Regions from separate parts of the Homo sapiens genome. Here all the other regions are linked to region 1. Evidence: promoter capture Hi-C in 16 types of primary human blood cells and fetal thymus (Javierre and others, 2016). All regions are on one chromosome and are shown on one strand. The core of a region is centred on a gene start or on the middle of the fragment in contact, and the rest is flanking DNA. Distances in the headings are between cores, read along the strand shown.

The links. Contacts are between HindIII fragments. The CHiCAGO score rates a contact against its expected background, and 5 or more counts as called.
Region 2: a fragment that was not itself captured here is called in contact with the fragment with the promoter of LNPK in region 1 in 5 of 17 cell types (total CD8 T cells, non-activated CD4 T cells, naive CD8 T cells and 2 more); the score reaches 7.7 in total CD8 T cells.
Region 3: a fragment that was not itself captured here is called in contact with the fragment with the promoter of LNPK in region 1 in 7 of 17 cell types (total CD8 T cells, total CD4 T cells, fetal thymus and 4 more); the score reaches 9.6 in total CD8 T cells.

Annotation. Positions count from the first base shown.
Region 1 is chr2:176,000,428-176,004,266 of GRCh38, forward strand. It overlaps LNPK (lunapark, ER junction formation factor), which reads right to left and starts at 1,840. Exons shown (of 13, transcript NM_030650.3): 1 at 1,733-1,840. RefSeq lists an enhancer at 2,034-2,253. The HindIII fragment of the contact is 1,642 bases long and covers 813-2,454 here.
Region 2 is chr2:177,165,654-177,169,492 of GRCh38, forward strand. No RefSeq gene overlaps it. Among named protein-coding and RNA genes, the nearest start is that of MIR4444-1, 45 kb to the right of the region's middle. RefSeq lists enhancers at 1,148-1,666, 2,668-2,962. The HindIII fragment of the contact is 3,119 bases long and covers 290-3,408 here.
Region 3 is chr2:177,143,103-177,146,941 of GRCh38, forward strand. The region is part of intron 1 of LOC105373760 (a long non-coding RNA gene); the gene reads right to left. Among named protein-coding and RNA genes, the nearest start is that of MIR4444-1, 68 kb to the right of the region's middle. The HindIII fragment of the contact is 3,583 bases long and covers 123-3,705 here.

The DNA of each region.
Region 1 (3,839 bases), core at 590-3,089:
CATTATTATTACCAGAAAACACATGTATTTATATGAAACACATTTCTAACTTCTTATAAAGAAAGCACCTATTTCATAATTCTAAAATTGGAAAATTATATTAGTTTGTATTTTTACAAAAATAGATTGCTCTCATTTTCTCTAGTATAAGAAATAGAGCAAAAAATTCTGTAGACTCTGCCATTAAATAACCTTGTAGGTCTTTGAAGGAAACAGCAAAGGAAGTTCTATGTTTATCAAATTCCAAAGTTAAGTATAAGCTATTTAATCACCATCAACAGTACCTCCATAACATATTATACTATACAATTGAAGAGTAAAGGTGATTTATTCTAGAATTCTAACTTTCAAATGTCCTAACTGAAAAGACAATTCTGAAATAGCCCAAGCCACATTTATTGCTCCTCAAAAAGAATTTTAATGAAAAGTACACCTCTATTATATATTAAGCACTCTTAATATATAATGATTAGTGCTTGCTTTCATGGTAAGTCAATTTTCATCTGAACTAAATACCACCAAAAAATTACTATTTGATTATAAATGTTTCTATGTGAAGTCATATATTTTTAATAGCCATATAACTTCTCCTTTTCTTGTATTTTCTTGTTTATATAACATATAAACACTATATAAGTTTACTAACATCATTACTGAGCTGATCTCAATAGATAACAGACAACCTTAAAATTCTAATTTAAACGCACCACTCCTGTTTAAGAAAATGTGTTAAAAGTCAACTTGGTCTTCTGGGGGCTGCTGAGGAAAAGAAATGAGCATTCCCTGCCAGTTTGAACATATTCCTGAAACCAAGCTTACTCACACCCACCAAACCGCTGTTGAATAGAGTCAATTTTGTCAATGCTGACACCCAGGCCATAAAGAAAGGAGGAAACAGTAGACACCGAGCAACACACACCGGAGGCCAACTGGGAAAAGCAGAACACGGAAAACTCAGTGATTCACGGGTCTTGCTTAGTACTGTGAAAGCACCATCAGCAAAGCTGAGTTGACCAATTTCAACTCTTTCTCAATCCGTAAACTATGAACTGACGGAATTTAGATTTGTTTTTCTCCTCCTACCACGCCTCTGATACAATGCACCTTCGCCCTTCCCCTCCACCCCACAGCCCACCATCCCTGAAATAAGGACAATGGTTGGAGAGTCTCTTCTCTAAGTAGCACGTACTCCACGCCCACACGCTAGAGCCCGGCAGCATGACACTGACAGTTTTCAGTCCCTTCTGGTCTTTCTAACTCTTGGAGCCTCCGCACAACTCAGAAAGAGAAGCGGAGAGAACGCTCAAAGCGGACAGCTGAGCGTAGGAAATGCTAGTTTGGGACCTTCTGACCTCTTTGCCCCACCTGTGTCGAGATAAGCTCGACACAAGTGGGCCAAAGAGCTGGGGCTCAAGCCAGTCACCACCCGGAATCTCCTAGAACCGAGCTGGAGAAACTACCAGCCCTAGAGGGGAAACAAGGGTTTCAAGACTCCAGCGCCACCACTGCCAGTGTGCTGGGAAATCCAGGGAACAAGGCGGCGAGCCTGGGTCTGCGCGGACCACCGCGCAGCCTGACTAGCAGCCGCCGCAGAGCTCTAGGCCACTTGGCAGGAGGCGGGGGCACCAAGGAGAGGCAAGCGGGGAACCCGCAGCTTATTTCCCAGGGGCACAGCTCAGCATGCCTCCCCGCTGCAGAGCCCTCCCAACTGCCCTCGCCTTGAGCGTTCTACCTGCAAGAAGCGGGCGCAGCCCGGCCCGGGCGTCCACCCCCGCCAGTCTCGGCCGCCACCGCCCAGCCTGCCTCCAGAGCAGGCAGCAGCCGCCACTGACAGAGAGACAAGCCGGGCCAACTCCTTCCCATGAAACCCCGCGCTCCAGCCGCTCGCCAATTGGCGCCGCGGTCGGCGCGCGCCGCTCCCCCGTCACGTGACCGTACCCTGGGCGGGTAGTTGTTGGGGCGGGTCGGCCGGGAGGTTAGGATCTTGTGTTTGTGGCCTCCGCAGCCAGCTTAGGCTGCTCGGTGTCGTGTCGCAGTTATGTACTGCCATTTATTATGACTCTTAGAATATAGTTATTTCTTACTCTTCCGCTGCCTCCTTTGCTTTTAAAGCCTGTTCTGCCAAGTCTCGCTGGAGAAGGAAACCCCTGAAACTGGTCCTGGTGGTCTCAGACCGCCGCGCGAGCGAAGAGTGGGGAGGACAAAGGTTGGGGAGTTGAGAAGGATGGAGATGGGTGCATCTGGAAGGGAGTCCGTCCTGAGGAGTCCCCCATCAGCTGTCAGCCAGCCAGCAGCAAAGCAAATTAAGACTACACAGCTCCGAAGAAGCCAGTTCCCAACCAAGCCAGTGGAGAAAAGTCAGCCCGGTCCCCAGGAGTGCTTGAGGCTCTGTCACTCTTGGACGTCAAAAAGGGTCATTTGATGACTGGACGCTTACCTCACCGGTGTGAGGTAAGCTTCAAACGCCGTATCATGTTGCTTTAAAACCTGCGGGTAACAGCATAAGCTGAGTTTTCTATCTTAGAACTCTTAACCCCAAGAACACTCTTCACAGGCCCTGATAGGTGGACCCACAAAAAAACCACTCAGGCTATATTTGACTCGGATTTGAAACGCTGCCGAAACGGTATTAAGTGTCCTCCTCAACTGGAAAAGACAAATAACAAATGATGCCTGAATGAGAAAAAGACTAGACGTGCACACAGTAATGTGTGAGCAGGGAAACTTCAGCGAAGGTTTTTATCATGCTTTACCCCTTTTACATGCTTTACCCCATGTGCAAACATTTTTCATGGGTTTTTTTCTATTTTTTATTTATTTTTATTCTATTTTTTTATTTATACACAAAAAAGTTTCAATGATTTTTTAAAGAGTAATAGTTTTAATATGTTACATTTAAACTTTGACGATGCAAACAGGTTGTCAAGAGAAGCAACTGAGCATTGTTTGGTTGGTAAGAAAATTTATTATACTAGAAGCTACCGCATAATTCACTGTGCAATTTGCTTGCCCTAATTGCCTAAATATTTAGTTACAGTTCTGTACACTTGCAAGGATGAGGGGAAGGGAACTGAAGTTTAGCGTGTCACTGTGGATCAGGCACTTTCCAAATGTAGAAGAAAATGAACAGAAACATTTCACCTGTTTTGATGTGGAAATTTAACCGTTTTGTTTTTCAACCTTTGCTGTTGCAAAGTATTAAAGTCCTGTGCAGTTTTGCAAATATATCTCACCGCAGAAAGATCTCCTTTCCTAAGAAGACTGGGAAGAACGGCTTTCCACTTGCCAGTAATGTGTCCTCTGGTTTCAATTGAGCCATCAGTGTCTGTACTCCAGCCTGGGCTACCAAGCGATACCCCACCTCTGAAAAAAGGGTAGCAAGGGGACAGAGAAGAGCTGTCTGGATACACGAGATTCCAAAAACCTAATCCTGAGATAAAATTCCCTAGGGAATTGCTCTACCGAGAGTAGAGATTTGACCTGGAAAGAGAAGGGAGAGAAGTATTTAATCATTAACTCTTTTAATCCTCCCAACAACCTTTTTAGTATCATTTTTCAAATGAGGAAACTGAAATGTAGAAAGATTATGTACACTGTTGAAGGTAACACTAAGCCACTGCCTCCTTCATATCAAGAATAGTTGTTCATCGAGCAAATAAAGTGAGGGAAAGACATTACAAGCAGAGAAATCAACATACACACTATTGTGGCTGGACTTCAGGCTACAGGGTGGTTCCAAATATTTATTGACAAGGCCCTGTGTTACGTGCTGAGGATACAGAGATAAATAAACCAGCTGTCCTAAAGCCGCTGACACTAGTGAGAGAAACCTTAAAAAA
Region 2 (3,839 bases), core at 599-3,098, 1.2 Mb after region 1:
AAGAGAAAGTACATTCAAACTTCAGTGAAATACTATAATTTTTTTAAAGAAATACTTTATAGTTTGACTTGTGAATATATTAAATGGCTGGGAATACTCATTCAAATCACATGCCCTATTACCCACCCCATGCCCTCATTTCCTCTGGGAGCTGCGGAGGTCTGGCACTTGGAAAAAGAGGAAAAGAAGGAACGGGCTTCTCTGAGCCTTCTTCTGGCTTTCATAGGCAGAAAAATATCAAGCTTTCTTTTCTTCACCCTTACCCTAATTCCTCAAAGAAAGAATGCTAAGCTTTATCTTGGGTGGACTTCCTTTACCCTACACTAAAAATAAGATTGAAACTTGTTTTCTCCCTGTATCAGCCAGATTTCTACATGTGGTTTGTCAAAGGCTGCTCCTGAACTGGTTTTCCCACAGGATATCAGTGAATCATTACCCTTTAATCTCCAAATAAGATCCCAGAAATGAACAAGAGCAGAAAGTGATCTGGAATGCAAATCAATGTTTGTTTTGATGGCCTTTTGGTTTTCTAGTTGAAATCTCCCTTAGAAATTCTTTTATTATGGCACCTGGGTGACTTTGGTCTGGGAGAGAACATTCAGAAAGTGAAAATGAAGTTTGAGGAAGTCAAAAATGCTGCATAGCAAATGACGCAGAAGCTCAATGTGTCTGCATTGTAAAGAAAGGTCAGGTTTAATCCTTTGTTATCAGTCGTAATTTTGCTGGTCCCTTTCAGGAGACATCATGACAGGGAAACTACATTAACCACAATTTGGTATGCCCTAATCTTCATGCTAACTACAGTTTTCTTTTGTTACTTACTGGCCTTGACCTTTAGATGGACGGCATCAGGTGCTACTGAAACCAGCAGATCTCTCTCTAAAGCCTAGTGCAGGCCTGAGTCATATGCAGTTTAATTCATATTCCACTCAACATGCCCGTTTTATTTCCAGTGGAAATTGCTCATTTAATTGCACTGTACGTTTTATGGGGTATGCCCCAGGCTGCGTTCTTTATGCTAGGCATTTCAGTATTTATGGGCATAGCTATACCCAAAACTTCAAACATAAAAGTAAAACCAGCAAAATATGCTCTCCTCCAGTTCCATAAATGCTTTTCACCAGTTTCATTATTTTTTCCAATGAGATTAAATGGGTGTGTTAAACCTGTAACATAGACTATTACTTGGTGTTTCCAGAGCTTCTTTTGTCCTTCATATTCAAATCCAATACAGCCCCTTTTTCCTGCTTCTGAATGAGACTGCAAAGAGCAAGTATGGTCCTTCTGTGTATGGTCTAGCGCCCAGGAACAATAAAGACTTCCTCTGTTGGTAGCCTATAGAATTTTTATCTGTGAGAATAACCTGTAAAAGGTTTTGGTGTTTTTTGTTTTTTAATGAACTGTGCCTGCTTCTAAGTCACACCTACACCCACTAAAACACTGGATTAAAGATCGAATGTGGCCGGGCGCAGTGGCTCATGCCTGTAATCCCAGCACTTTGGGAGGCACAGGCGGGCGGATCACGAGGTCAGGAGATCGAGACCATCCTGGCTAACACAGTGAAACCCCGTCTCTACTAAAAATACAAAAAAATTAGCCCGGCGTGGTGGCGGGCGCCTGTAGTCCCAGCTACTCCGGAGGCTGAGGCAGGAGAACGGCGTGAACCCGGGAGGCGGAGCTTGCAGTGAGCCGAGATGGCGCCACTGCACTCCAGCCTGGGCCACAGAGCGAGACTCCGTCTCAAAAAAAAAAAAAAAAAAAAAAAAGATCGAATGTGTGTGTTGCAAAATAAATAAATATGTCAGCCTTGTACTGCAGATGGCTCCTGTGTTTTAGGGCAGGAGCAGACAGACATATGATTTTACCTGTAGCAGATCAGAAGGCATTCCCATACTACCCAAATGCAGAAAGGGCTCTACTATGTTTTACTAAACCTATGACTGTTTTTATCTGCTGTTATCCATCCCACTATATGAAATATACGAAAGCATGTTTCCAGGAAATTCCAGAGTTTTAGACAAACGCTTCTTGATAAAAGCCATTAATGGCTTTTTAGACAGTTTAAGTAGAATGGTACAAACAGAAGCCTCATCACAGGGGTTTCAGAAAAGGAAAACAAAAAGACAATAGGTATAGAACGACTCATTTGTCTATAGATTTGGAAAATGTCATAGGGTCGAGTGAAGATATTTGCCAAATTGAAGGAGGTAAGGACATATTTAGAGCCTCTGGGAAAGATGACAGATCTCAAGGACTAAGATTTGAATGCCGGAACAAAGCAGAATAGAAAAAGACTAGAGTTGTGTTTTCAAAAGAATAGGGAATATTTCGTAGACTTAGAAGGAGCTAGAGGTGGTAGCCTGAACTTTAGGAATAGGAATTCTTAGTGATTTGCCTGCAGTGTAGTAGATGTCAATGACTGAAGGATGACTGAGGATCTTAAGAAAGATGTGGCTTCTTCTTTCTCAGAAAAGCCACAGGGAGTGACCCCTGCAAATCCTTCCGAGTATAAGGTGTACACCCAGTGACAGCCTTCCTCACAGGACATAGTTATCACAGCATTGATGTGATCATTCCTCTCTTAATTAGGATTCAGTGCAGATGCAATTGGCTGAAAACCCAAAATAACAGTGGCTTAGGTAAGATAGAAATTATAGTCATTATTGGGATTATCCACACATTCTGGTTCTCCTGCTTTTAGGGCAAATAGACTACTTGCCTACCTTTTTGAAGTTAGATATGGTATGTGACTTGCATTAGTCAGCAAAATGGCATGTGTTATTTTCAGTTCCAAGCCTTATCAGTATACAATTCACTACATTCCTTTTGTCTTTGTCAGCAATGGTGGAAGCATTGGTTGACATGGACACTGTCAGCCTGGCTTTCTGAGTACCCACAATGAGCAGAGTCCCCCTGCTGACCAGCAATGGACATGTGGTGTGATCAAGAATAAACTTGCGCTGGGCATGGTGGCTCACGCCTGTAATCCCAGCACTTTGGGAGTCCAAGGCAGGCAGATCACAAGGTCAGGAGTTCGAGACCGGCCTAACCAACATGATGAAACCCCATCTCTACTAAATATACAAAAATTAGCCAGGTGTGGTGGCGCGTGCCTGTAATCCCAGCTACTCAGGAGGCTGAGGCAGGAGAATCACTTGGAGGAGGTTGCAGTGAGCTGAGATCACACTACTGCACTCCAGCCTGGGCAGCAGAGTGAGACTCCATCTCAAAAAAAAAAATAGAATAAACTTGTTGTTTTGAGTCACGGGTTAAATTTCTTTCTCACACAAAAGTCTGAGTGGTGGGGCTAGGACTGATACAGTGATTCATGGTTTGAGGGACCCAAGGTCCTCTGTCTTGCTGTTCAGCTGTGCTTGGCATGCTCATGCTTCATGGTTACAGCACTCAAGCTTTAAGCAGCAGGAAGCAGGAAGGCATGGAGAGGCAAAGGGTGTGCTGCACGTCAAGGAAGGCTCCCAGAAGCTCTCTTCCACTTGGAAACCTTTGGCCAGAACTTGGTCCCATGGCTGCACCTATAGTTGCAAGGGAAAGGGAATCAACGAAGACTGGGTGAGGCCAGCCAAAAATTGTGGGTTATTTGACCACATAAAGGGACCCGGAGGACTGCATTCTGCCTTAACTCTCAAGAACTCCTTGTATAAATGTGGAGATGATAGGATTGCACTGTCCCTCCCCATTTTTCATAAAAATAAAGAAGTAGTGAGAATATTGATCAATGTGGATGATGAGAGATTGAGGCCACCCTAACTAATTTAGTTGTTGGAAGGGGGATTTTTTTCTTCCCCAACACCTCCGTTGGTAAGAGATTATAAGACAAC
Region 3 (3,839 bases), core at 664-3,163, 1.1 Mb after region 1:
ATTTCCTGCAGTCAAAATGCAGAAAGATCTTATCAATCTATTGGCAATTGACATTATGGTAAGAAGCTTATGGGTTTTTTTTTAACATCTTAGAAATAAATGTTTTATTGTATCTAAAATAAAGCTTTAACATTTGTGATTATTGATTGTAGACCCACCTTTATACACTAAATGGTTCAGACTGTAACATCAAACATAATGTAATTTAGGTAATACTTCAACTCACGTCAGTAGAAATGCCAAGGTTGTGCTCAACATTTAGGTGAACAATGTAAGGAATATGCTCATTAATGTAAAAAATAATATATTTGTTATTTAGCTAATGAAGAATTTTGAGACCCCAAACCACTATCGAATATCCAGCATGCCTTATTTGTCTGGAACTAGACTTCTGAGGCTATTTTTATTCCCTGTGATTTACCACCAGTATCCTCTGGGTGATAGTTGAGGAAACAGATGCTGGGAATCTCTCTGCTCAGTTCCTGAGAGGAGAGTTCTGACTCACAGCCTTGCCAGCTCCCTGCTTTGTACTCACATAAGCAAAGGGTGGTGAAGTAAAACGTAAATGACTGCCTGATTTCCAGTCTCTCATTGCCAGTTTCCTCAAAGTTTCCACTTACGCATTTGCCTCCCTTACCAATTTCGTTTGAAGTTCCTTTTCCAAAATCCTGAACGGCATGTTCCCAGGATACATTTACTTTTTCAAAAAAATTCATTCAGTGGGGATTTTCCAACTGAAATTAAAAAAAAAAAAAAGGAAGACTGGAGAGGGGGCATTCTTTTTTTTCGGCTTTTTCATTTACTGTCAATTGATTGTATTGATATCTGCAGAAGGAAGATGTAGATTTTTTTAAAAAAATTGTAAAATGTTCCCCTCTAAGCTCTAAGCACATTTTTCTTATGGAAAATCATAAACCTTCCTAAAAGTTTCCTGTATTCTGTTATTTATTGTGAAAGGATTTAAACTAACATAGATATGCTTCCATTTGGAGATTATACTTAAATTGTTAGTTTAAAAAAATTAATCTTTATTAAATGTCCACAAGGTATAGAGCATTCTTCTTTCTTTGTGCGTCTAGGCTGACAAAAATACACAGGGGGAAGAAATCTATGAAGTTTAAATACCTTTTATAATGAATTTAAAACAGAAGCATACGCCACATTATAGACTGAGAATTCAATTTCACAAGGCAGCAGTTTCTCTTAAAACTATTATTTTAGGTCGGGCGCGGTGTCACGCCCTGTAATCCCAGCACTTTGGGAGGTCAAGGAGGGTGGATCATGACATCAGGAGTTCGAGACCAGCCTGACCGTCATGGTGAAACCCGTCTCTACTAAAAATACGAAAATTAGCCAGATGTGGTGGCACGCACCTGTAATCCCAGCTACTCAGGAGGCTGAGGCAGGAGAATCACTTGAACCTGGGAGGAGGAGATTGTGGTGAGCCAAGATCCTGCCCCTGCACTCCAGTCTAGGTGACAGAGCAAGACTCTTTTTAAAAAAAAAAAAGCTATTATTTTACAGAGAAATTAAATTCACTGGCCAGAGTATGTTTTTACAAAGTTTTTCTTTAAAAACCTACCTTTACTTTATTGAAAACAATGGGACCTATATGGATAATTTTCTTTTTTTTTTTTTTTAGCTGGAGTTTCGCTCTTGTTGCCCAGGCTGGGAGAGCAATGGCGTGATCTCAGCTCACTGCAACCTCTGCCTCCTGGGTTCAAGCGATTCTCCTACCTCAGCCTCCCGAGTAGCTGTGATTACAGGCATGCACCACCACGCCTGGCTAATTTTGTATATTTAGTAGAGACAGGGTTTCTCCATATTGGTCAAGCTGGTCTCCAACTCCCGACCTCAGGTGATCCCCCGCCTCAGCCTCCCAAAGTTCTGGGATTACAGGAGTGAGCCACCACGCCTGGCCAATAATTTTCTAAGTGTAATCTTATGTGAGTAAATTAAATTTCCTTATCAAATGCCACTGAACTACCTGAATGTTTGCTTATTAATCCCATAATTTAGTGTGGCTTAACAATAGCCTGGATAATTGATTTAGACTATTTTTATATTAGGAAAACTTGGCAATTGTTATTGCATTTCAGATAAAAAGAGTTTAGGTTGACAAGTTAAGTCTCACAGCATCACCGCGACACCTTCTGGAAGTATATCTATGTGAGACGGAACAAGTCAACCTACTACTAATCCAACAGAAATCTGTCTGGGAGAAGGGGAGTGAGGAAAGGTGTCGGTTTGTTAGCATGTAGAGCAAGCAGCCTACTAAAGACTAAATTATTGCTTTCCATCACAAAGACACTTACCCATCCTCAAGTTGACCACCATCTTGTTCTCTGTGAAAGACCTGGCTGGTAGATTGGGCCGCCTCACTAGCATCAAATAAATATTCCTTACCAGCCACAAAGGGAAAATATATTGAGCCAGATTAGTAACATTCTAATAGAAAATGTGGCATTTTGAATGAGGAAAACTACTTCAGTGAAAAAATTTGGTAAGATGCCCACAATGAGCAAAGAACCTTAAAATGCAAGAGATTCTCCAGTGGAAAATGGCCTAATCTTTATGAACTAACTGCTACACAAAAGGCAAAAAGTCAACACAAAAATTGACATTTAAAAAATCTATTCGCCAATAATATTTTGCAAAGATATTATACACACACGCACGCACACACACACACACACACACACACACAGTAAAGGAAATATAACTGATGAATGATGCTGAACTACTTTTGTAGCTGTTTAACAGTTACAATCTTGGGGTCTATGTATGCACAAAAACACCAAGTAACCAAATGATTCAGTTAGACATTAAGCAAAGAAAGTCAGTGAAACTTGCTGTATGATCTGAACAACTATTTGGGCACCCAGGCAAAGAGGTAAATTCACCACTTATATATAAATGAAAAAGACAGGGTCAGTAATATGCTTGTTGTGATGCAGATTAGGGAAGGGTAAAAAATGTCTTAAATGAACACTTCAATTCTGGTATATGATTACAAAACTAAAATCCCTGCAGTATACACAAATACAATTGCCTAACTTCAAAGTCCCAGGAAGCACCCACAAGGAAAAAACACACTCTGATTTTAATGTCTTCCTGATCCCCTCAAATGGCCTAATATGTATAATATTGAAAGTCAATTCTGTAGCTTCTCAAGGGTTAAATTCTTTGTTGCAAATAACTCTAAAAAAGTATCCCAGTAAGAATCAGGCTTAGACTAGTTCAGCAAGAGGAACCGTTCCATAATGAGGCTTGGCCTGGACCAGTCCCAGGAGAATTAATTTTGTGCCGTAGAACACCTAGATAAATTAGTTTTGCTTTAAATATCGAGTCCTAAAAGAGTTAAAAGAGGGAGAATATCAATCAATAATTTTTAGATTAACTACTTTGTATATGACAAAACAAAATTAACTTTGGCATTATAACCACTTTCTCTCGCATTTCTGATAAGCCCCAAGTTTAAAATAAGTAATTAGAGATTTAAAAACCAACCGAATATGTGCATTTGTTTCTTGTTACAAAATACTAATTCACTGCCTAGTTTGTAAAAAAAAAAAAATTACTCATACATTTTGCAAAATTACAAATATTGTTATTTTTATTAAAATAATCACACCTGAGAAGAATTCAGAAAATATGTAGACAAATTCCTGTAGGGTTTTTTTCATGGAATTGCTAAAGGAATTAAGCTTTAAAATTAAGTGAAAAATAATATTTCAGTTAACAAAGTTAGGTTCTTGAAATTATATTTTCATTGATTAATTCCTTCCAATGTCTACCCATTACTTCTCTTTTATAAAATTTATTTGTATTGAAACATT